7 separate regions of the Homo sapiens genome follow, and regions 1, 3, 4, 5, 6 and 7 are each linked to region 2. The links are contacts of gene promoters, found by promoter capture Hi-C in blood cells and fetal thymus (Javierre and others, 2016). All regions are on one chromosome and are shown on one strand. The core of a region is centred on a gene start or on the middle of the fragment in contact, and the rest is flanking DNA. Distances in the headings are between cores, read along the strand shown.

Region 1 (2,927 bases), core at 133-2,632, 840 kb before region 2:
TGCCAAGCACTGGTGAGGACTGGAGATCACAAGAACCATCTTCATTGCTGGTGGAGTGGGAATCAATTCATTTGGAGACACAAGTTGGCAATTAAAAAAAGTGTGAAGATGCATATTTTAGCCTGCTCCAGCCGCCATAGCAGAATACCATAGGCTGGGTGTCTCAAACAACAGAAAATATTTTTTTCATAGTTAAATAGTTAATTTCTAGAGGTTGGAAGTTGAAGATCAAGGTTCCAGTGGGGTTTGGTTTCTGGTGAGGGCCTTCTTTCTGGCTTGGAAGTGGCCATTTTGTCCTTATATGGCCTTTTTTCTGAGTGTACTCAGAGAGAGAGAACATGCATGGTATCTGATGTCTTCTCTTATAAAGACACTAGTCTTTGGTAGGGTTCCACTGTTATGACCAAATCATTTTATCTTAATTACCTCCTTACAGGTTCTATCTCCAAATACAGTCATGTTGGGGGTTAAGGATTCAATATATGACATGAAGGGGAACACATAATTTGGTCCACAGCAATCCACATACACTAAGACCCAGAAGTTCTAGAAACATTTCCTAGAGAAATTCTTGTGCACGTACACAAAGAGATGTGTAGAAAGAATATTCACTGTTGCATTATTTATAATAGCAACATGAAAAAAATTTAGATAACCACCATTAGGAAATGGAGAAAGAAATTGTAAAATCATCAAACAATAAAGTAATACACAGTAGTTAAAAGAGCAAACAAGAACCACATATTGTGGCTCTGTCAGCATGAATAAATCTTAGAAATAAAATTTGAGTATGAAAATCAAACTACAGAAAGTATACACAGAACATGATACCATTAAAGTGAGAAAGTAACTAAGCAGTAGGTCTTAGTTTCTTATGGATATACTCATATGAATGAAACATATGTTAAAAATATGACAATATGGATGGAAAGGATGAACCTCAATTCAGGCTAGTGGCTGATTTAGAGAAGGAGGAAGGGCAGTAACAGGATAGGTGACTTTAATTTTGTCTGTAATATTTTATTCTCAAGTTAAAAGGATCTGAGGTAAATATGGCAAAGTAATAACATCTACTAAAGGGATAGTGGGTACATGGTAATTTGATATATAATTTCTGTTCCTTGTGTTTGCAGTTTTCATAATGAACACCAAATAAGCAAACAAATGTTTAAAAGGCAAAATGTCCCTGAGAGTTAGAGAGATCTAGGTCCCAACTGAGTTCCCATTATTCACTAGATATAGGTCCTTGGGCAAGTTACCTAACCTCCTTAAGTTGCTCCTATTTATGTATTTTCATCTATACCTACCTCTTGGGAATATTGTGAAATTCAACAGCGCTCATGTAAAGCATGTGGCACCCAGCATACAAAACAATGCTAGTTCCCTTTCTTACATCAAGTACTGTTTAGTAACATTGATTTAAACTCCATGTCTTTGTCTAAACTAAAAGAAAGCTCTGAGTGGTTGTAATGAGACAGAATAATTTTCCTGTTTCCCTTATTGTGACCTTTCTTTCTTTTTTTTTTAACCCCTACCTTGTCTCAGGTATTTAAATGTGTGTGTGCATGCACAAACACATAAGCAGTACTTCACAAGTGCTTTAGAGCAGAGGCTAAACTTTTGGAGGTTGGGAAAATGGTCTCTTTAATGTCATGTAAGTGTGAAGCATCTTTTCACTTACAGGCTTAAAAGAACTATATTGTAGCAAAACTAGAAATCAGTTAAAGTTTTTGTGTTGAGACAGTACTTGCTGATTGAATTCTCATGGTGTATGTGTTCTTTTTCTTTTTCTTTCTTTCTTTTTTTGAGCTGGAGTCTTGCTATGTTGCCCAGGCTGATCTCAAACTCCTGAACTCAGTCAATGCTGCTTCAGCTTCCTGAGTAGCTTATTACAGGTATGTACTACTGCACCTGGCTGTATTTATTTTTATGTAGTCTTTCATAACAATATAATGAGGACAGTTTTGTGTGGTCAGTTTTAAATTATCCTTGCTGTGGAGACATCAGAAAGCTCAGGAAAATCCAGAAACTTCATCTGAATCAATTGTTCTCATTTTTTTAAACTGCCACTTGAACTATTAGCAGAAAAGATCATCAATTCAAGTATCTACCCCTTTTTGTTCTTTTTTTCATGCTAGAGAATTTGTTAAAGAAAGGTTCAAAAGTCACAACATTAGCAGCAATAAAGGTAAAAAATAAAAATAAAAGGCTGAGCCTGATGGTTCACACTGGTAATCCCAGCACTTTGGGAGGCCAAGGAAGGCGGATCACCTGAGGTCGGGAGCTCAAGACCAGCCTGACCAACATTGGAGAAACCCCGTCTCTACTAAAAATATAAAATTAGCCAGGTATGGTAGCGCATGCCTGTAATCCCAGCTACTCAGGAGGCTGAGGCAGGGGAATCTGCCTCTAGGGAGGCAGAGGTTGCGGTGAGTCAAAATTGCTCCATTGCACTCCAGCCTGGGCAACAAGAGAGAAACTCTGTCTCAAAAAGTAAATAAATAAATAAATAAAATAATAATGATAAAATAAAAATAAAAAATAAAAAAGTCTCCGCTACTTTGGGGACAAAATGCTAACTGAAAATCAAGCTGATCAAATTGGTTGCTTTCAATTTTATGCTGTCTCTAGACTGAAGCTCAGAGCTTCTTATAACTAAGGAGGAGAGGAGAAAGATATGTAGAGAGCAGGCAGAAAAGAGTCTAAATAACCAAGGACTGCTATGCAGGTTGTGCACTGCACAACTCCAGAAAGCACGATTTACATGGACAACTATGTATGCATGCAATGGCCCTGAAAGGAGGTATCAAAGTAAAGAACAGAAAAGGCCGTAGTTGCACAGAAGAGTTCCTAGTCTCTGAAATTTCCCACAATCTAACTTTATGAGTGAAGCCCATTCTCATTTAACTACACAAGTAAGTGATGGA
Region 2 (3,033 bases), core at 10-2,509:
GAGAAAAAGGCTTTAAAAGATATGAAAGTAGGCCAGGCGCGGTGGTTCACGCCTGTAGTCCAAGCACTTTGGGAGGCTGAAGTGGGTGGATCACAAGGTCAGGAGATAGAGACCATCCTGGCCAACATGGTGAAACCCCGTCTCTACTAAAAATACAAAAAAAATTAGCCAGGCGTGGTGGCGGACGCCTGTAGTCCCAGCTACTTGGGAGGCTGAAGCAGGAGAATGGCTTGAACCTGGGAAGCAGAGCTTGCAGTGAGCTGAGATCGCACCACTGCACTCCAGTCTGGGTGACAGACCGAGACTCCGTCTCAAAAAAAAAAAAAAGATATGAAGTAAATTGTTCTTTGTTTCTTTACAGCCCAAACTCACTGAATATAGTAATGAACAGTCCTAACTGCCACTAAGCTTGCTGACAAAGTGATGCTCAATAAACATCCACTGATGATGCTAAAAATAAGATGTTCGGAAAGAAAGTAATATCTTAGAGATGCCCACAATTTTGAACCAAATATATCCTTCTGCATAATAGAACTTCATATCTGAAGCAGAAAATAATATTGAGCAGATTAACACACTCTGTCCCCAGATGATTTTGTTTCCTCACATACATAGCTAAAGCTGTAAAGTGCCCTCTAGAAATGTTTATTTGAATCTATAAATGACTCTTTTATTACTTAGCTACTCAAAGTAATTATGATATGATAATAAGTGATATTTTAAGTTCTTTTTGAAAACAATAATGCATTCTGATAATATTATACAGAATTAAAAATCCGAAGTACAGAAGTACAGAAACTCTTCGGACATGACTGTCTGTACTTGTTAAAGATCAGTTAGATAGTAGCAGTGAACCATTTGAAGTTCACTGCTAAGTCAAATTTGACTTTGAAGTTTAAAGTCAAATCATCATTATCAAATATGGAATGTGAATACAATGGATTTGATTTTTTTAAATGCACCTATAAGGCACAACAATAATCTAGTCACTTAGAAAGTAACGAAGCATACTGAAATTTCTTCTGTGAAGGTAGATGATACAAAACCCAGAAGCCTTTTGCCTTTGAACGATTCTACCATTCCCAAGTAAAATAAACCCCCATCACTTGGGTTTGGCCATTCCAGTGACAACTACATGTTAGCTTATCCTGCTTGCTTACTCATTTACATTGTATTATGAGGTCAAGAAACGGCTCACTGTGGAGGTCACATTCAAGTTGACACCTGCATAAGAAGAAGTGTCAGCAATAAGGCCACATTGGGAGTAGAGAGTGGTGGAGAGAAAGAGAGAAGGTCAGAGAGGTCAGTAAAGTCCAGACCATGCACAGCTTCAGGTCAGGTGAAGAATGGGAAGCTATTGGCAGATTTTAAGCAGGGGAATGTCATGATCTAATGTTTTCAAAAGACCACTCTAGCAGGAGTGTGGTGGAGTGAGAGTGGGTGTGGGAAGAGCAGTTATATGACCATTTAAGCGATCTTAGCAGACATGATGGCAGCTCTGCAATGAAGACCAGGAGATGAACACGGGATACATTTTGGAGTTGTAGCTGATCGGGCATACTGATGGATTAGAGGGGGGTAGCAGTAAGCAAGGTAAGACTCAAGGCTGCCTTGATGTTATTTGCTGAATGGAGGAAAGGCTGTGGGACGAATATTGGGGATAAGAGAGGAGTAGGGGTGAAGCAAGAGTCCAGTTTTGGGTTATATTAACCTTGGGATGTCTGTGATATATCCAAGTAGACACATCAAGGAGGCAATTGGATCTAAAAACTTTCAGCTTGATGGAGAGGCCAGTGCTGGATTTATAAATTGAGTAGCCGTTGGGTTATTGCTAATGTTTAAAGCTGTAAGACTGGGTCCAGGTTGAGAGTGTGGCTGAAGTGCACCTAGGACCCAGCCTTTGGGCACCTCACCACTGAGAGTTTGGAAAGAGAAAGCAGCCTGCAAAGAAGACTGAAGTGCTCCAGTGTGGAGAAAAACCACAGAATATGGCATCCCGAAAGTCACAAGCACAAAATGTTCAAGAAGATGAGAGCGTTCAACTTGGTCAAATGCTGTGAAGACATCTAGGAAGCTGGGAACAGAAACATAACTATTAGATGTGATAAAAATAGGGGTCATGGGTGACCCTAAAGAGGCATTTCAGTAAGTATGGGGGCTGGAAACCTATTTAGAGTCAACTGAGGCAAAAATGAAATGTGAAAATATTAAGACAGCACTTTTCTTGCTGTCTTGGGTAGATCAAAATGGGGTAGAACCTGGAAGGGGATAAGATGTCAAGAAAAAAGTTTGAGTAGAAATGAATACCAGTGAGATCGATCCAATGAAAAAGGAGAAATTGATGGTGTAGGAGAAAAGCAAATTTAACTGCAGGAGGTTAAGTCTTGGGAGCAGGTAAGGGGATGAGATGCAGAGCACAAGCAGAGGGACCATGCTTAGATGACAGTAGGAACTCTCCACCCATCGCATTGGGAGGAAAGTCACAGCATGTGAGTTTAGGTTGGCATATTTTGGGGTACATGATGAGAGGTTATTTTGAAACTAGACAGAGCATATGTGTACTATGGGATATCAAAGCCAGTGTACATCAATTGTATTAATGAGTATACACAAATATATCGATCACCATCTTAAAGACACGAATAAGGCAGTAGAGAGAGGGATTTGAGGATATATCTTAGACATTGTTTTTGCCTGATTTGATTCTTCCATTTCTACCCATTACATTTTCATATACTGAAGATCTATGACTACCAGTTAGATAATTTTATAATGCAACCAGACAGGGAGCCAAACTCAAAATCTATTTTCCTTGAGAAGTTCTATCCTATCGTCTTAGTCTTCTCTGATTTTTTCTTGACCTCTAGGCTGCACCTCACGGTACAGCCGGCACTCGATCATTTCATATTTGTCTCCTGCTCATAGGTCTTATTGTCTCAAATAGATGTTAAGGCTCCAGGATGGGGCCAAGTATTTTACAATAAAATATCATTGTCTCTCCCACTGTGAAAAACCTAGTATTAGATATAAAGT
Region 3 (2,895 bases), core at 55-2,554, 760 kb before region 2:
TTTCTTTCTTTCTTTCTTTCTTTCTTTCTTTCTTTCTTTCTTCTTTCTTTCTTTCTTCCTTCTTTCTTTCTTTCTTTCTTTCTTTCTTTCTTTTTTCCTTCTTCTTTCTTTCTTTCTCTCTTTCTTTCTTCATTTAAGAAACAGTCTCGCTCTATCATCCAGACTGGAGTGCAGTGGCATGATCTCATCTCACTGCAACCTTAGCCTGTCGGGTTCAAGAGATTCTCATGCCTAGCCTCCCAGGTAGCTGGGATTACAGGCATGTGCCACTACACCCAGCTAATTTTTTAATTTTAAGTAGAGACGGGATTCAACATCTTGGCCAGGCTGGTCTTGAACTCCTGACTTCAAGTGATCCGCCAACCTTGGCCTCCTAAAGTGCTGGGATTACAGGTGTGAGCCACTGCCCCCGGCCTCTCTTCATTTTCTATAACAAATAATTTTCATATCCCATGATTAAAGGCAGATAATGGTGGCCCCAAGTATCCAAAACTAGCACATCACAGCTTATGAGCTCCTATTGTACAGTCTGAAGGTCCAGGAAAGGTTCAGGTCCATGCCAGCACTTCATACCAGTTAATGCATTGCTCCAACAAGACCAGCCAGTATTCTTGGAAGCTTAACATCCATGTTACATATTAAAATCTGCTTTGGAGAGTGTTGGTCAATCCAATTACATGTTTGTATTTATCATCATCATCATCATCATCAACAACAACCACAACAACATCACAATACATTCATCTACATGTTCACAGGGCTGTTGGGTGTTTAATAAGCTAGACATGAGACCATCTTTTATGAATATGAAACATTGAAGGACATAGTTATTTAAAGGCATATGTACTATAGAACTGTAGAAGGGACAAACAATGAAGTGGCAAGAGTTCTCTTAGCATTTATATATCTGCATTTGTCTATTTTAAGCATAATAGCTTCAAGAGAATGAAAAGACAAGCCATAAACTGGGAGAAAATATTTGTAAAACACATATCTGATAAAGAACTATTATTCAAAATATACAAAGGACTCTTAAAACTCAACAAAAAGAAAGAACAAACTGATTCAAAATTGGGCCAAAGACCTGAACAACCAAAGATATACATATGGCAAATAAGTATATAGAAAGATCCTCCATATCATATGTCACTAGGGAATTACAACTTTAAACAACTATGAGATAGTCACTAAGCAGCTATTAGACTAGTCAAAATCCAAAGGACTGGAAGCACCAAATGCCCATGAGGATGTGGAACAATGGAAACTCTCATTCACTCCTAGTGGGAATGCAAAATGGTACAGCCACATTGTAAGACAGTTTGGCAGTTTCTTACAAAACTAAACATACCCTTGCTATATGATCTAGCAGTCATACTCCTTGATATTTGCCCAAATAAGCTGAAAACTTATTTCTATACAAAAACCTGCATACACATATTCATAGCAGCTTTATTCATAACTTCCCAAACTTGGAAGCAACCAAGATGTCCTTCTGTAGGTAAATGGATAAATAAACTGTGGTACATCCAAATAATGGAATATTATTCAGAACTTAAAAGAAATGAGTTGTCAAGCCATGAAAAGGCGCAGAGGGGTCTTAAATGCATATTTCTAAGTGAAAGAAGCCAGTCTGAACAGGCTACACAGTGGGGTGGTGCAGTGTATGCACCACTAACTGTGTACGGTATGATTCCAAATATATGATATTGTGGAAAAAGGCAAAACTTTGGAGACAGAAAAAAGATCAGCGGTTGCCAGTGGGGAGGAAGGGATAAATAGGTGGAGCACAGAGAATTTTTAGGGCAGTGAAACTATTCTGTATGATACTGTAATTGTGGGTACATTTCATTATGCATTTGTCAAAACCTATAGAATGTGCAACACCAAGAGTGAACCCTAATGTAAACTTTGGCCTTTGGATGATAATGATGTGTCAGTGTAGGTTCATCAGTCCTAACAACTAAATGAAACTAAACTACATAAGTTAAACTAAAGCTTGCCAAAATATTTTTATGACTTTAAGGCTCCTTAATAAATTAATGTTTACATTCAGGGTTTTGAAGACTAGTATTCACCAAAAGTCTTGCAGTGTTTTCTTTGCATCATAAAAGATGCTGAAAGCAAAAACCTGGGAAATACGGAAAATTGCCTTGTGAGTTAGTAAAAGTCATTTATAAGCTGCTGAGGGGCTTTTGGGAACAGCCACACTTTTTATAAGCTTGTTAGCTCATGAATTAATTCAGGATGCCCACCCCGTGTGTCAAACTGGGCCCTTACCCAGCTACTCCCCTTAGAGAAGGTTGCAGCTGCTCAGCAGATGAACTAGGCCCTTAAAACTCCTCATGGCTCCCTACCCACCACACTAGTGTTAACGGCTCGATTAGGGCTCTGTAGGAAAGGGAAAGAAGTTTGAATCAAAAATTTTCTTTTTTTTTTTAATAATTTAAACAATCAGTAAGGAATGTGCAATTTGATGTCGTTTGCAAAGAAAGTTTTTAGGAACAGGGCTTTTTATCCTATTATGTTTGTTCTTTGCACGTAATTATTTGATTTAAATGGTACTTTTCTTAAAATTTTTATTTACATTGTATTTTATATTGCAAGAACTTCAAATACAGCCCTCACAATAAATCAGTAACTGTTCGGTCTTTATCCAAACTGAACTTTTATAGAAGGATATAAGGAAGTCTCTATTCTTTAACAAATCATATCCAGTTGTTTTCTGTCCCTGATATCAATCAAAAGTTCATTTCTTCTGCCTTTAACCAAAAGAAGTTTACAAGGGAGGAACTCTTTATCTTCGAAAAAAATTTTGCATCTTAGATTTTATAACACCTAATGGGGTTAAGGATCTGTGTTGAAAGATCTTATCACTCTGTGTATAGTGTTACAAAT
Region 4 (2,700 bases), core at 176-2,675, 800 kb before region 2:
CTAGGCAGGGCAAGTTAACCAAGGACATGAGGAAAACTGAGGAGGAAAATGACCTGCTTCCATCCTCTGATCTTAATTAGCCATGAAGAGAAAATGCTTGAAAAATTTTTGCGTGACTCCCACCAACCTGGAACTCCTCGAAGCTCCTTGTGAATAGGGCTGTTTGTGTGGAGAACGACAGTCAGTTTAGAAAGCTGATGGACTCATCAAAATTTATGTGATTCGAATCCAAGATAAGAAAATGTCCATAGGCATGAGTCATTCTAATGAGCACAACTGGGAATTATGGACACACGTTTCTATGTAAGAAGCTTAGAATGCATCCCAAATTATGAGATATTAGAAGTAGAACCATTAAACCCAAATGATTTTGCTTACCTTTCACTGAGTGTAATCCAATCAACGTACTTCCTCCTGTTCTTTCAGTACCATCTCCAAGTATTACACAAAGATTTTCTTGTGGCTTTTGTTCTTGAATTCAATGCTTTCCATTGGTTTCAAGTGAATAATCGGGGCCTTATGGTAAAAGCAAAATAGACTTACTTCCAATCTTTTAAATTTAGCTAAAACTGAGAGGATTTTGTTTGGCTTCCACTATCCCTCCTTGATTCTATTCCTTTTAGGTTGACTTTTTTTAAATGCCACACAAACACACACACACACACACACACACACACACACACACACACACACACACACCAAAAAAATTGTAAGTAAGGAGAAACTAAACGTGAGTTAAACATGATCACATTTACTTTGGCCACTGTGTATATAGTTCTTCATCTTGACTTCATGACTTAAATACTAGAAAACTATGAAGCACTCTTACCATCAGGAAGGGAGAAATTATATAAAATTGGGGTCAGAGCAATGGCTTCTAATCCTACTCTGTGCAGAATTCAATTGTTAATAAAATGGATCTGATTCAAAAGCTCAGGGAGGCTAAACAGACCAGTCCATATTCCCCCATGTTGTCAATTGATTCAAATAATGATGGGACAATTCAAAGAGTGAGTTTTTCAAGTCTTCAAACAGGCACTTTCTTGAAGTCCAGCCAAAGTTTTTTGTATTTCAGCCTTGTATGTTATGCTGTAACATATGGCCATATTGAGGTACAGATTTCATCTCCACCAGCATCAGTGTGGTTGTCATTTACCTCGTTCTGTCTCTTGATGACCCTATTATTATCTCTGTTATTAGGTGTTGGAGTCCAATGTCATTTTTTCCTGGGCTGTTTATCATTAGGTGGTTTGAAGAAGGTGACTGCCAGCCATAGAGGGAAACACGGGGTAGTCTGTGTTAACATGCATTCAGAACTCTCTTTGACATCTTCCTCATTTTAATATTGAAAAATTTCTCTCTTCTGCACCAACTTGGATTGTTAGCCAGCTGTTCTTTCAATGGAGGGACAATTGTGTTCCAAAAAATGGAACTGACGGAAGGACACGGGTTGATGGCTGTGCTTCTCAGGGAGGGGCTGGGCTGCTGGATGCACTTGATGAGCTCGTTGATCTCATGGGGTAGCTGAGGCATCACAGACAAGCAGGGAGGATGTTCCCCAGGTTGGGAGCGGCCGTCTGCATCCACCCTCAGCAGTCCCTGTTGTGACTTACCTGGGAAGCCCCATCAGGAGGTGCCTCCGATTTCCATATCTGCCCAAAGCACTCAGCTTGAAAGTTACTGTAATCATGGAACAGCTTGGATGAAAAACCTTCTTGTACCCCAGTTGGCAGACACTAGCTATTTCTTTTGAAAGTCAATAACCTTGCCCCTTCCTGCTCCTTCTCAGGCCCATACCTTCCTTGTTTTTTCAGCTATTTGGGGCATTTAAAAATAAATCCAGCTCTGAGCTGCAGCAGAGCATTGATACCATCTTCTTCTAGGCCCTGGCACACAAACTCAGCACAATTGACTGTTTTGATATTTCTGGGCTGAAACTCTTCTCCTACCCAGATCTGCTGTGCATCCTGGTTCTCTAGCATGTCTGCACTCATACCCATCAATTAGTATGGCAGGATGCCCACTTAAACAAGGTGCGGAGCCAATTTCAACAAGGCAATGTGCCAGTCCAATCCCGGCTCAGATAGGGACTGAAGCAAGTGACACAGCATGTCCACGAAGAGCCTTCCTGGTGGATGGTGCTGCCAAAGTAGGGCCTCGTGTTTCACTCCAGGGAGCTGTCGCCGTGGAAATCTTTAATCACCATGCATTGTTTTCACTCTATTCTTTCTCCTCTTAGAAAAGAAATTAGTATTATAGGATTTTCTGGATTCAGGATGCTTCTTTTAAAATGAAAATTTCTTTTGTATAAGCAAAAGATACAAATGGGGCATTGCAAAGCACAGAAAGACACAACAAGAAGCATAGGCCGTCTTTCTTCCCCAGAGCCACACACTGCCTTGGCAGCCAGAGAAGCGTCATTGCAGACAGACAGCAAATTACTCTTTGTGTACTGGTGAGGACCTGGAAAAAGTGGCTCTGATAGTTGTAGAGAGGTAAGAAGCACTATTGCAAAAATACCAGAGTTGCCCTTTTCCAAGAAGCTTCCCCCTCTAGCTCATGGATAAAGGCCTCAAATCAGTTAAGAGGCTAAAGAAGGACTAGGAAGGTTATAGGAGTGGGATAGGGAAAGCTAACCTCCTATGAGTTTAAATAATTTATTAATGAAAAGAAGCTGTGAACCTCTGCTCTGATGCCCAC
Region 5 (2,886 bases), core at 82-2,581, 830 kb before region 2:
TCTTGGACATTCTGGGCATTCCAAATCATAAAATAGGATTCCAGATTATTCTGAATGGCTGTATTTACATCATCCATTTCAACATCCATGTCAACATACATGTTGCTGAAGGGGTAGCTTTGGGAACTACTGCTCTGAACACAAATTAATGGTAGGAGGTACTGACTGAAAGCATCATGTGGTAGAAAACCCCAAATGCTTTTTTCAAGAACTATATATGAACTGTGTTTGTGCACGCACAGTTGTATGCTCATAAACGTTAATAAATTGGTATTGGGCAACACAATTAACATTCATTTCATTGGAGGCCCACAATATGCTAGGATTTTTTTCCCTTAATGATGTTTCAGAGCAGGATGCTTTGGTCCGAAATACATTGAAACACGCAACAATGAAATTCTATTTCTTTCTAGTAGTATGTTAAAGGCACCATGGGGGACACAAAATTATGAACCCCAAACTGCACCCTCAGGTTATTTACAGCCTATTAAGAAAAGCCATGTTTTTTCCCAATAACAGAGAATTCAAATACAGCTAGTCCCTGTGTTTGTTGTCAGAAAGAGAAAGAAAACCATACTTTGTTGGGACACATCATTATTAGTGTAACAATATATAAACATATGTCAACATGAAAAGCTTAATTTAAAGTATCATGGCATTACAGATCCCTTGTCTGAAGAATAAACTCAGTCAAAGAAAGTTGGAATGACTTGCCCGGGGTCACATAGTACTGATGATATCAGAACCCAGCTTTTTGACTTCCAGGTGGAGAATTACAGGTAAACTGAGAGTCCCTGGCTGGGTTTGGTCAGGTCCTTTATGGCTCTATAATGCTACGACTCTCTGAGAACTCTATGACCATGCTGCCACTCTCCTGACATTCTTTTAATTAATAAAATCACTCAGCTGAACAAAAATAATGGTTTCATTAAGATGCAGAAAATGCCACATTTAATCACTAAAAATGGCATAGTGTATCATTCACCTTAGGGAAATTTTTATGTTTAAATATGCAATATAGAGATATTTTAGATAATTAGCAACAAGGAAAGGCAACTAATCTATTATTGCATAATATTTGATTACCTATTAACTTCGGCCATGTAATTGAACACATAGCCAATGACTGTCACTTCCTGGCACTAAAGCCCAGGTAGATACTGCTCTGTTTTCATTCTGTCATTCTAGCCATTTCTAGGATGAATTTCCTTTTATTTGGAAGGAGGTTTTAAACTGAGCATTTGACGTCACATTGTTACCCACTGAAAAGTGCTCTCTGTAAGTGCTTCCTGAAGAAGGCAAGGTTGAAGTGAACCCTTTCAAACCAATGCGTGGCACTTTGTTAGCATTTGCTGAGTGTCCAGCACTAAGCTAGGCTTGTGAGGTAAGAAAAGAAAGTTTGTACCTGTTTTTATCACATGGGGCCAGTTACCTTTGTCTGCCTTCCAGGCCCTGGTTGCTAAATCCTGGGAAGTCTGTAATTACATTAGAAGATGGGATTATTAGTGATAAAATGTGGTGTTTTATAGATAGTGCTCTGAAACTTTGTTTCAATGGCCTTTCCCACACAGTATCTCAATAACCCTAAGGTAGGCAGGAAAAAAAATGTTACTGAGGCTCAGAGAATTTAAATGGCCTGCCTGAAATGTGACAGAAGGCAGACCCAGGACTAAAATGGAAGTCCTTGGAAGCCTGGCCCAGGGCCGTTCCTTCCTCACAAGGAAGGACTTGTAAAGAGCTTGCTTAATTCAAGGTTCCTTTGGCCTGGGATATCCTTTTGCTCATGCTCACCTGATGCCTCCAAGATAGGATTTCTGGGTATCCCTTCTTACCTGACATGCGTTCTGGCCACATCTTAGCCTGTAGTGCTCATGTACCTTCTTAGTCTCTAATCTGTCTATTGGTGCTTTGATATGTTAACCACGGGCTATCTTACTCCCTCAATTTTATTTTTGGATAAATTGGAGAAAACAGTTTTAAAACGATGAACTATAAGACTTTGATGCTGATTCTTTATTCTCAGTCCCAAGCTTTGCCTATACTTCAAAACAGATCTCAATGGACAAGGAAAAATAATATCAGCATTTCACTGGGCATCTAAAGTGCTAGGCATTGTGCTAAAAACTTTGAATGTTTTTAACATTGTATCAAGATGGGGACTGAAGGGCTTTAAACCCAGGCAGTCTGAATCCAGAACCCAAATGTCAGCTATGACACTGCTGTTGTCTCCCACAATGCCATACTTGCAAGTTTTGTGTAACACAGAGCATTTAGAAATCTCTTTAAAATTATGAAATTCTGGGTTTTCTTCCCCTGCTGTGGCCCAAACACAAACTAAGAACATACCTAACGAACAGCTGCAATTGATATTTTCATCTTAATTAGGGATTAAACATCAAATAAATTATTCTATTTAAGATGATTTATGATGTCCTAACTTTTCCAGTAGTTCATTTCAAACAGATTTTTAATAGTAGGAGAAAACAGTACCATAGTAACTTTTTAAAGTATGTGTGGGAAATTAACTAAAAATATTAAAAAGATCACTCACCCACTGTTAGCCTTTATTTTTTACCCCAAAACAACATGAGAAAATGAGTTTTTTCTTTTACCTTTGCTGTACCTTCCTCTTTGAAAATAAGCCCATTAATAAGAAGATATAAAAGGAAAATGTATCTCAAGACAAATTAAACTTTTTAAAAGAAACAGTTCTATCAAAACAAGTTTGCAAATAAAAAATAATTACCAAATGAACATATTAGGGGAGTGTAGCCATTAGGCATGTTTTTATTATGCAATAATTTATCCATGAACAGTTTATATTTCATATCCATATTACAGTGTTTTTTTTCCAAGTCACTGGGAGTACTCAAGCAGAGCTGATGA
Region 6 (2,988 bases), core at 487-2,986, 780 kb before region 2:
CAGAGAAAAACGTGGTACTCTCAAGATACTTAAATTCTTTTTCCAAACTCACCAATCAAATAAGTTATTTCTCTTCTGACTGGGAAAAGTGAGTGAGAGGCAAGGATAGCCCACAGGCTATTCTATTACCTGCCGCCCCAAGGATACATGACCTCAGGGAATTAGTTCTCCTTTCATGGTGACCAGTGTTTGGCATTTATTCCTTTTGTAATTGTCCCACAGTTTGGGGGGTATTCATCTTTTCAATTATTTTTTCTTTTTGTCTTTCAGATTTGGAAGTTTCTTTTGGCATAGCTTCAAGTTTATTGATTCTTTCCTTGGCTGTGTCCAGCCTATTGCTAAGCCTTCCAAAGGCATTCTTCATTACCATTATGGTGATTTTGATTTGCAGCATTTCGTTTTAATTCTTCCTTATAATTTCTATCTCTCTACTCACATTACTATCTTTCTGTTTGTTCTTGCATGTTGTCCACTTTTTCTGTTATAGCCCTTAACATGTTAATCATAATTGGTTTAAATGCCTGGTCTGATGATTTTACAATCTCTGCTGTATCTAAGTATGGTTCTGATTCTGCTTTATCTCTTCAAACTGTTTTTTGTCTTTTAGTATGCCTTGTAATTTTTTTTTGTTGAAAGTAGCATGTGATGTAGTGAGTGAAAGAGAATGAAGAGAATAAACTTTTAGTGCAAGGTTTTATGTTTACGTGGCCAGAGTTAGACTTTGTTTACTGTTTGCTGTAGCTGTAGGTATCAGAGACTAATTTTTTTTCTGGTGGCCTTGTTTTAGTCTCTCCTGTTATCTTTGGGTTTCTTTAGAGGCTTCTTTTTTTTTTTTTTTTCTGAGACAGAATCTCACTCTGTCACCCAGGCTAGAGTACAGTGGCGCTATCTCGGCTTACTGAAACCACCACCTCCCAGGTTTAAGCAATTCTCCTGTCTCAGCCTCCTGAGTAGCTAAGATTACAGGTATGCACCACCATGCCTGGCTAACTTTTGTATTTTTAGTAGAGATGGGGTTTCACCATATTGGTCAGGCTGGTCTTGAACTCCTGACCTCAAGTGATGCACCCGCCTCGGCCTCCCAAAGTGCTGGGATTACAGGCATGAGCCATCATGCTTGGCCTAGAGACTTCTAAAATAAAGTATGGGAGGTGCAGTTATTTCAGTTGTAATCTCCTGTTATTGTATAGGAGCCTTATTGATGTGTTGATATGATGTGGGGAAAGGCGAATCATTCTATGGGCCTATGATTAGGTAGCAGTATTTCAGTGAGCCTGTGCCCCTGAACCATGGCCTTCACACATGCTTTTCAGTTTTTTTTCTCTTAGATGAGACAGGAAGGCTACAGAGGGTTAGAGTTGGTTATTTTTCTCCCCCCAGGTAAGTTAGGTTCTGGTAGACCCTACTTTGGTTAGGCTCTTGTAAACTGGTTTTCCTTGAAGGTAGGTCTTGTTAGGAGGAATAGAGCTCTGGTATATTTCAAAATGACTCTAGACTTCCCAGACTTACAATGGTTTGACTTACAATTTTTCAACTTTACAATGGTACAAAAAGTATACACATTCAGTAGAAACCATACTTCAAGTATCCATACAAACATTCTATTTTTCATTTTCAGTGCAGTATTCAATAAGTTACATGAGATATTCAACATTTAAAAAAATAGGCTTTATGTTAGATAATTTTTCCCAGCTCTAGCCTAATGTAAGTGTTCTGAGCATGTTTACGGTAGGCTAGGCTAAGCTATGATGTATGGTAGGTTAGGTATATTAAATGCATTTACGATATTTTCAACTTATGATGGGTTTATCAAGACATAATCCCATTATAAGTTAAGGAGCATCTGTACATGTCCCCTCCTGCTGATGGAAGCACAAATGACTTTTTTGTAACCTTCACTGTAAGAACCTAATAAGGCTCCTGGAGGTAAAACTCTTGAAAGTGTGGAGGCCCCCTAAGACTGGGCTCCCCCTGGCATTTTTAACTCTCAAGCTGTCCACACGGGGCCTCTAGCAATTCATCAGTTACCGTTTAGGTTGTCTGGCCCTGGTACTGGTTCCTGTGGAGGTTTCTCCTCCAGTAAACCATGTTTCTCTGAATCCACCTATCTCTCCAACTTTTAGGGCAGCGGTTTGCCTTGTGACTTCAATTCTCAGATGGATCTAAAAACAGTTGTTGATTTTTAGTATGTTCAGCTTTTTTCTTGTACAGATGGGAGAAATGACTTCCAAGCTCCTTACATGTCAGACTGGAAACTGGAGAGCGAGACTTTTCTTTTGCTTGCCATTTATAAACTAAAATTTTAGGGAAGGTGATTCAGTATTATACTAATAAGGCTGCCTACCATGACCTACAATATTGTGCAATTCTTGCTCTACATGTATAAATATATGCGATTGGTGAAAAGCAAACAAAAACAAAACCCTGAAAGATAAGAACTGGTATGATATGGGGGCCATGAAGTCTTGTGCTCAGCCTAAGTGGGCCAAAGTTTAAGAGCCACTACAGCATATTGTGACCTTGCCACTTAGCCACCTATGTCCCAAGGATATTATTTCTTCCCTTACCTCCACTGAACCTGAAATCTCTCCTACTACCTATCGACACTCTTATTAAACCCAAGAGACAACTATAAAACATGCCCTAGCCATGTGCACAGTCTTAAATATTGTGCCAAGTTTCTAGCCAAGTCCTTGTCTCTTCTCCCACTCCAGTAAAATGTTAAGAAATCCTCCATCTCTTTCCTTTAGAACCCATGAAACAGATAACCTAAGAAATCTGCCTTGTTCTTTTCTCTTGGTCCTAACTTGGCCCACTTCAATATTCCAGATCTGAGTATTGAAGGCAATCCAGAAGGCAATCCAAGTCTTACCAAGAAAGAGAAAGGAAACTATATATCCTTCCAAAGGTGCATCCTGTCATCCTTGACACATGGAAGGCAGGCATTGTTAGGGTTCTACTGGGCCACTAGGGTCAATATGTATCATG
Region 7 (2,869 bases), core at 121-2,620, 950 kb before region 2:
ATTCTGAATGGGAATATTTTTGCTACAAAAGATCAGTGAGACATTTGGCAAAACTTGACTGAGGTTTGGGAATTTGTTGGTAGCAATGTATCTAGTTAATTTCCTGATGTTATGGCTATGCTCTGATTATGTGGGAGAATATTACCACTTGTAGGAAATAAATACTAAAGAATTAGGGGCTGGGTAGGGTGGCCTACACCTATAATCCCAGCACTTTGGGAGGCCAAGGTGGGTGGATCATGAGGTCAGGAGATCGAGACCATCCTGTCTAACATGGTGAAACCCAGTCTCTACTAAAAATGCAAAAAACTAGCTGGGTGTGGTGGCACTCACCTGTAGTCCCAGCTACTCAGAAGGCTGAGGCAGGAGAATTGCTTGAATCCGGGAGGTGGAGGTTGCAGTGAGCTGATCGTGCCACTGCACTCCAGCCTGGGCGACAGAGCGAGACACTGTCTCAAAAAAAAAAAAAAAAAAAAAAAAAAAGAAGAAAAAAAAAGAATTAGGGAGTGGTGATTGGGCATCAGATCAGTAACTTATTTAGACATAGTAAGTAGGGGTCAGGGGGCAAAAAGTTTTCTTTCCCACCTTGTATCTCACTTACAGCCTTTCTAAATGTTTGAGGATGTTTCAGAGTTTTTTCTTTAAAGGAAAAGAAAGAAAAAATGTTGCCACCTGGTTAAACCCCAGGTATCTAAAATTTAGTATATCTCAAACAGAAATGGCCACCCTTCCAAATTGCTCTTTTTCTGACTCTCAATTTTGATAAATGTTACTTATATCTAATCACTTACCAAAGATAACCATGAAAATCAAGAAAACCAAGGGATCATTCTTAATGTCTCTTTCTCTATTACTCCCACATCTAAGCTTTATCTACTCTGCCTCAGAAATACCTCTCAGTGTTAACACGTCTTCATCACTCCCACTACCACTGCGGTGGCCTCTGTCTTTGTCCCTGATGTCACTAACCGGCCTTTCTCCATCCAGCCTGTGTGCTAGCAATGAACTTACTAAAAGTGAATCTTTTCACATTATTATCTTGCTTAGAGATATCGTTTGGCTCTCCATGGCATTCAGGATAAAGTCTGGCATTAGTAGCTTCAAAGCCTTCCTTAATCCCAACCAAACTGTAGTCATCTTATCTTCTGTCTGTCCTGTAAAACAATCAGCTATGCAAACTTTTCAACCTTCCTCAGACATACCTGCCCTCCCTTAACTTTGTGTTTTCACCTATGTTGTCCCTTCTGTGTAAAACACCTATGTTACCTTAAAAGCAGGAGATGCAAATTGGAAGGCCAACAAACTGAATCTAGCCTCCAGAATATTTTGTATGACCAACACAGAGGTTTCAGAAATGTGCAAAGGGCATCCTTTAGGTGTGGTCTTCCCTCTGCTGCTCACCAGGAAGCCCCCAACATCTGGCAACTTCACACGTTCCCTTTTCCTGGAAGGATTTGAGTTGGAGTTTTCAATACTCATCTCCCCCGAAGCCTTTCATGACTTCCCCCTTGTGAAGGCTCCATTCATAATCCCAAAATAGCACTTATCACAGTGTCCCGAGATCTCTGCTTGCATGTGGCTCAACTCTGACTCTCAGCAGGAACTGTGGCACCAACCTAAATTCTACCAAGAAAAGTATAGACACACACTGGAAGGCACTAGTTAGGGATCCAGAAGTGATTCACTCTTTCCTTGGAATATTTTTGATCTCCAAAGATATCTGGAACAACCATTTTCATATGATCCCAGGTCATACATATTTTAGAGGAAAGTTCCAGCAGGGGAAAGTGCTTTTAAAGTTTCTTTTATCTTCTTTGCAAAGGTGGTGATCCTAGATGATTGGCCTGAGCTATGTATTAATATTTTGCCTGATTAAGCTTTTAGGTGGGTTGTGAAGCAGAATGTGAGCTTCTCCTTCACTTTGGTATGGGTGATTCCATTTCTGTTCTAGGTCTGCAGGCCTTTGTACAGTGAGCAAGCAAATGAAGGAGCATTATCAATAGACAGATACATAAATAGATAGTATTGATATACATAATGTATATCATAGATAGAGAGAGAGATAGATAGATGATAGATAGACCGATATGTTTGCTGCCCTAATGGATTGACATAATCATATACATATTATATATATAATAAACATATTTTTTAATTTAAGCGATTGAATAGTGTGTGTGTTTGTGTGTGTGTGTGTGAGATTATCTCAATCCAGTAGAGCAGCAAACATATGTCTAGTACAATTTAATAAGCCTTTTTGTTACATAAGTAAACATCAGACTTTGGCTCAAATAGAAATGAGCAAAAGGATTTGCACAATTCTACCAATACTGCATAAATGTTTATTTTGATGAGTTCTGGGCTACTTTTTAAAGTTTTTTTTTTGTTATTTTGATGAGGTTTTGGCTCTTTGGGGGCATATTAATTATATTATCTCATTACACATTTTTAGAGGATTTTGGAAATTAGGAAGCACAACAAGCAGATGAACACAGGTGGAGACACAATGAAAATACTTACCAGGTGACTTCCCTGAGTGCAGTCACAGGCCCATTTTCTCCCATTAGAAATTAGAACTTAGAAAATCCTGTACAACAGAGATGGCAAACAGATGCCGGACACATGTGGTTCTCCTTAAGAATGATCTTCTGTGGGGTGTTCTCCGTGCTTCTGACAGTCCTCTCTGTGTGTTCCCTTCTGGGATCCCTTAGATTAAAGCATGCTCCTCGAATTCTCAGTGCAATGACAGAGGGGAAGGTGGGGGGATAGAGAAAGGGGCATGAGAGGGTGTGGCTTTTGGAATAAGGGATTGGCACTAGATTTCTAATTCAGATTCTGTGTCCACCTATGGAGAAAGCCACAAACATTC

What was found. The method cuts DNA at HindIII sites, captures the fragments that hold promoters and counts their contacts. A CHiCAGO score of 5 or more calls a contact.
Region 1: a contact is called between a fragment that was not itself captured here and the fragment with the promoter of TTC29-AS1 in region 2, in 1 of 17 cell types (endothelial precursors). The highest score is 5.0, in endothelial precursors.
Region 3: a contact is called between a fragment that was not itself captured here and the fragment with the promoter of TTC29-AS1 in region 2, in 1 of 17 cell types (endothelial precursors). The highest score is 6.2, in endothelial precursors.
Region 4: a fragment that was not itself captured here is called in contact with the fragment with the promoter of TTC29-AS1 in region 2 in 1 of 17 cell types (endothelial precursors); the score reaches 5.5 in endothelial precursors.
Region 5: a contact is called between a fragment that was not itself captured here and the fragment with the promoter of TTC29-AS1 in region 2, in 2 of 17 cell types (endothelial precursors and megakaryocytes). The highest score is 6.2, in endothelial precursors.
Region 6: a contact is called between a fragment that was not itself captured here and the fragment with the promoter of TTC29-AS1 in region 2, in 1 of 17 cell types (endothelial precursors). The highest score is 5.4, in endothelial precursors.
Region 7: a fragment that was not itself captured here is called in contact with the fragment with the promoter of TTC29-AS1 in region 2 in 1 of 17 cell types (endothelial precursors); the score reaches 5.9 in endothelial precursors.

The regions. Positions count from the first base shown.
Region 1 is chr4:146,088,944-146,091,870 of GRCh38, forward strand. No RefSeq gene overlaps it. Among named protein-coding and RNA genes, the nearest start is that of LINC01095, 32 kb to the right of the region's middle. The HindIII fragment of the contact is 4,912 bases long and covers 1-2,927 here.
Region 2 is chr4:146,932,745-146,935,777 of GRCh38, forward strand. TTC29-AS1 (TTC29 antisense RNA 1) reads left to right here and starts at 1,260. Exons shown (of 7, transcript NR_188447.1): 1 at 1,260-1,593. The region is part of intron 4 of TTC29 (tetratricopeptide repeat domain 29); the gene reads right to left. The HindIII fragment of the contact is 4,123 bases long and covers 407-3,033 here.
Region 3 is chr4:146,172,106-146,175,000 of GRCh38, forward strand. No RefSeq gene overlaps it. Among named protein-coding and RNA genes, the nearest start is that of LSM6, 2.2 kb to the right of the region's middle. The HindIII fragment of the contact is 1,377 bases long and covers 617-1,993 here.
Region 4 is chr4:146,132,875-146,135,574 of GRCh38, forward strand. No RefSeq gene overlaps it. Among named protein-coding and RNA genes, the nearest start is that of LINC01095, 12 kb to the left of the region's middle. The HindIII fragment of the contact is 2,232 bases long and covers 310-2,541 here.
Region 5 is chr4:146,106,697-146,109,582 of GRCh38, forward strand. It overlaps LOC105377469 (a long non-coding RNA gene), which reads left to right. Exons shown (of 3, transcript XR_939294.1): 2 at 1,189-1,384; 3 at 2,842-2,886. LINC01095 (long intergenic non-protein coding RNA 1095) reads right to left here. Exons shown (of 6, transcript NR_038331.1): 6 at 2,759-2,886. Among named protein-coding and RNA genes, the nearest start is that of LINC01095, 14 kb to the right of the region's middle. The HindIII fragment of the contact is 1,394 bases long and covers 635-2,028 here.
Region 6 is chr4:146,149,505-146,152,492 of GRCh38, forward strand. No RefSeq gene overlaps it. Among named protein-coding and RNA genes, the nearest start is that of LSM6, 25 kb to the right of the region's middle. The HindIII fragment of the contact is 3,839 bases long and covers 1-2,988 here.
Region 7 is chr4:145,977,822-145,980,690 of GRCh38, forward strand. No RefSeq gene overlaps it. Among named protein-coding and RNA genes, the nearest start is that of ZNF827, 40 kb to the left of the region's middle. The HindIII fragment of the contact is 1,010 bases long and covers 866-1,875 here.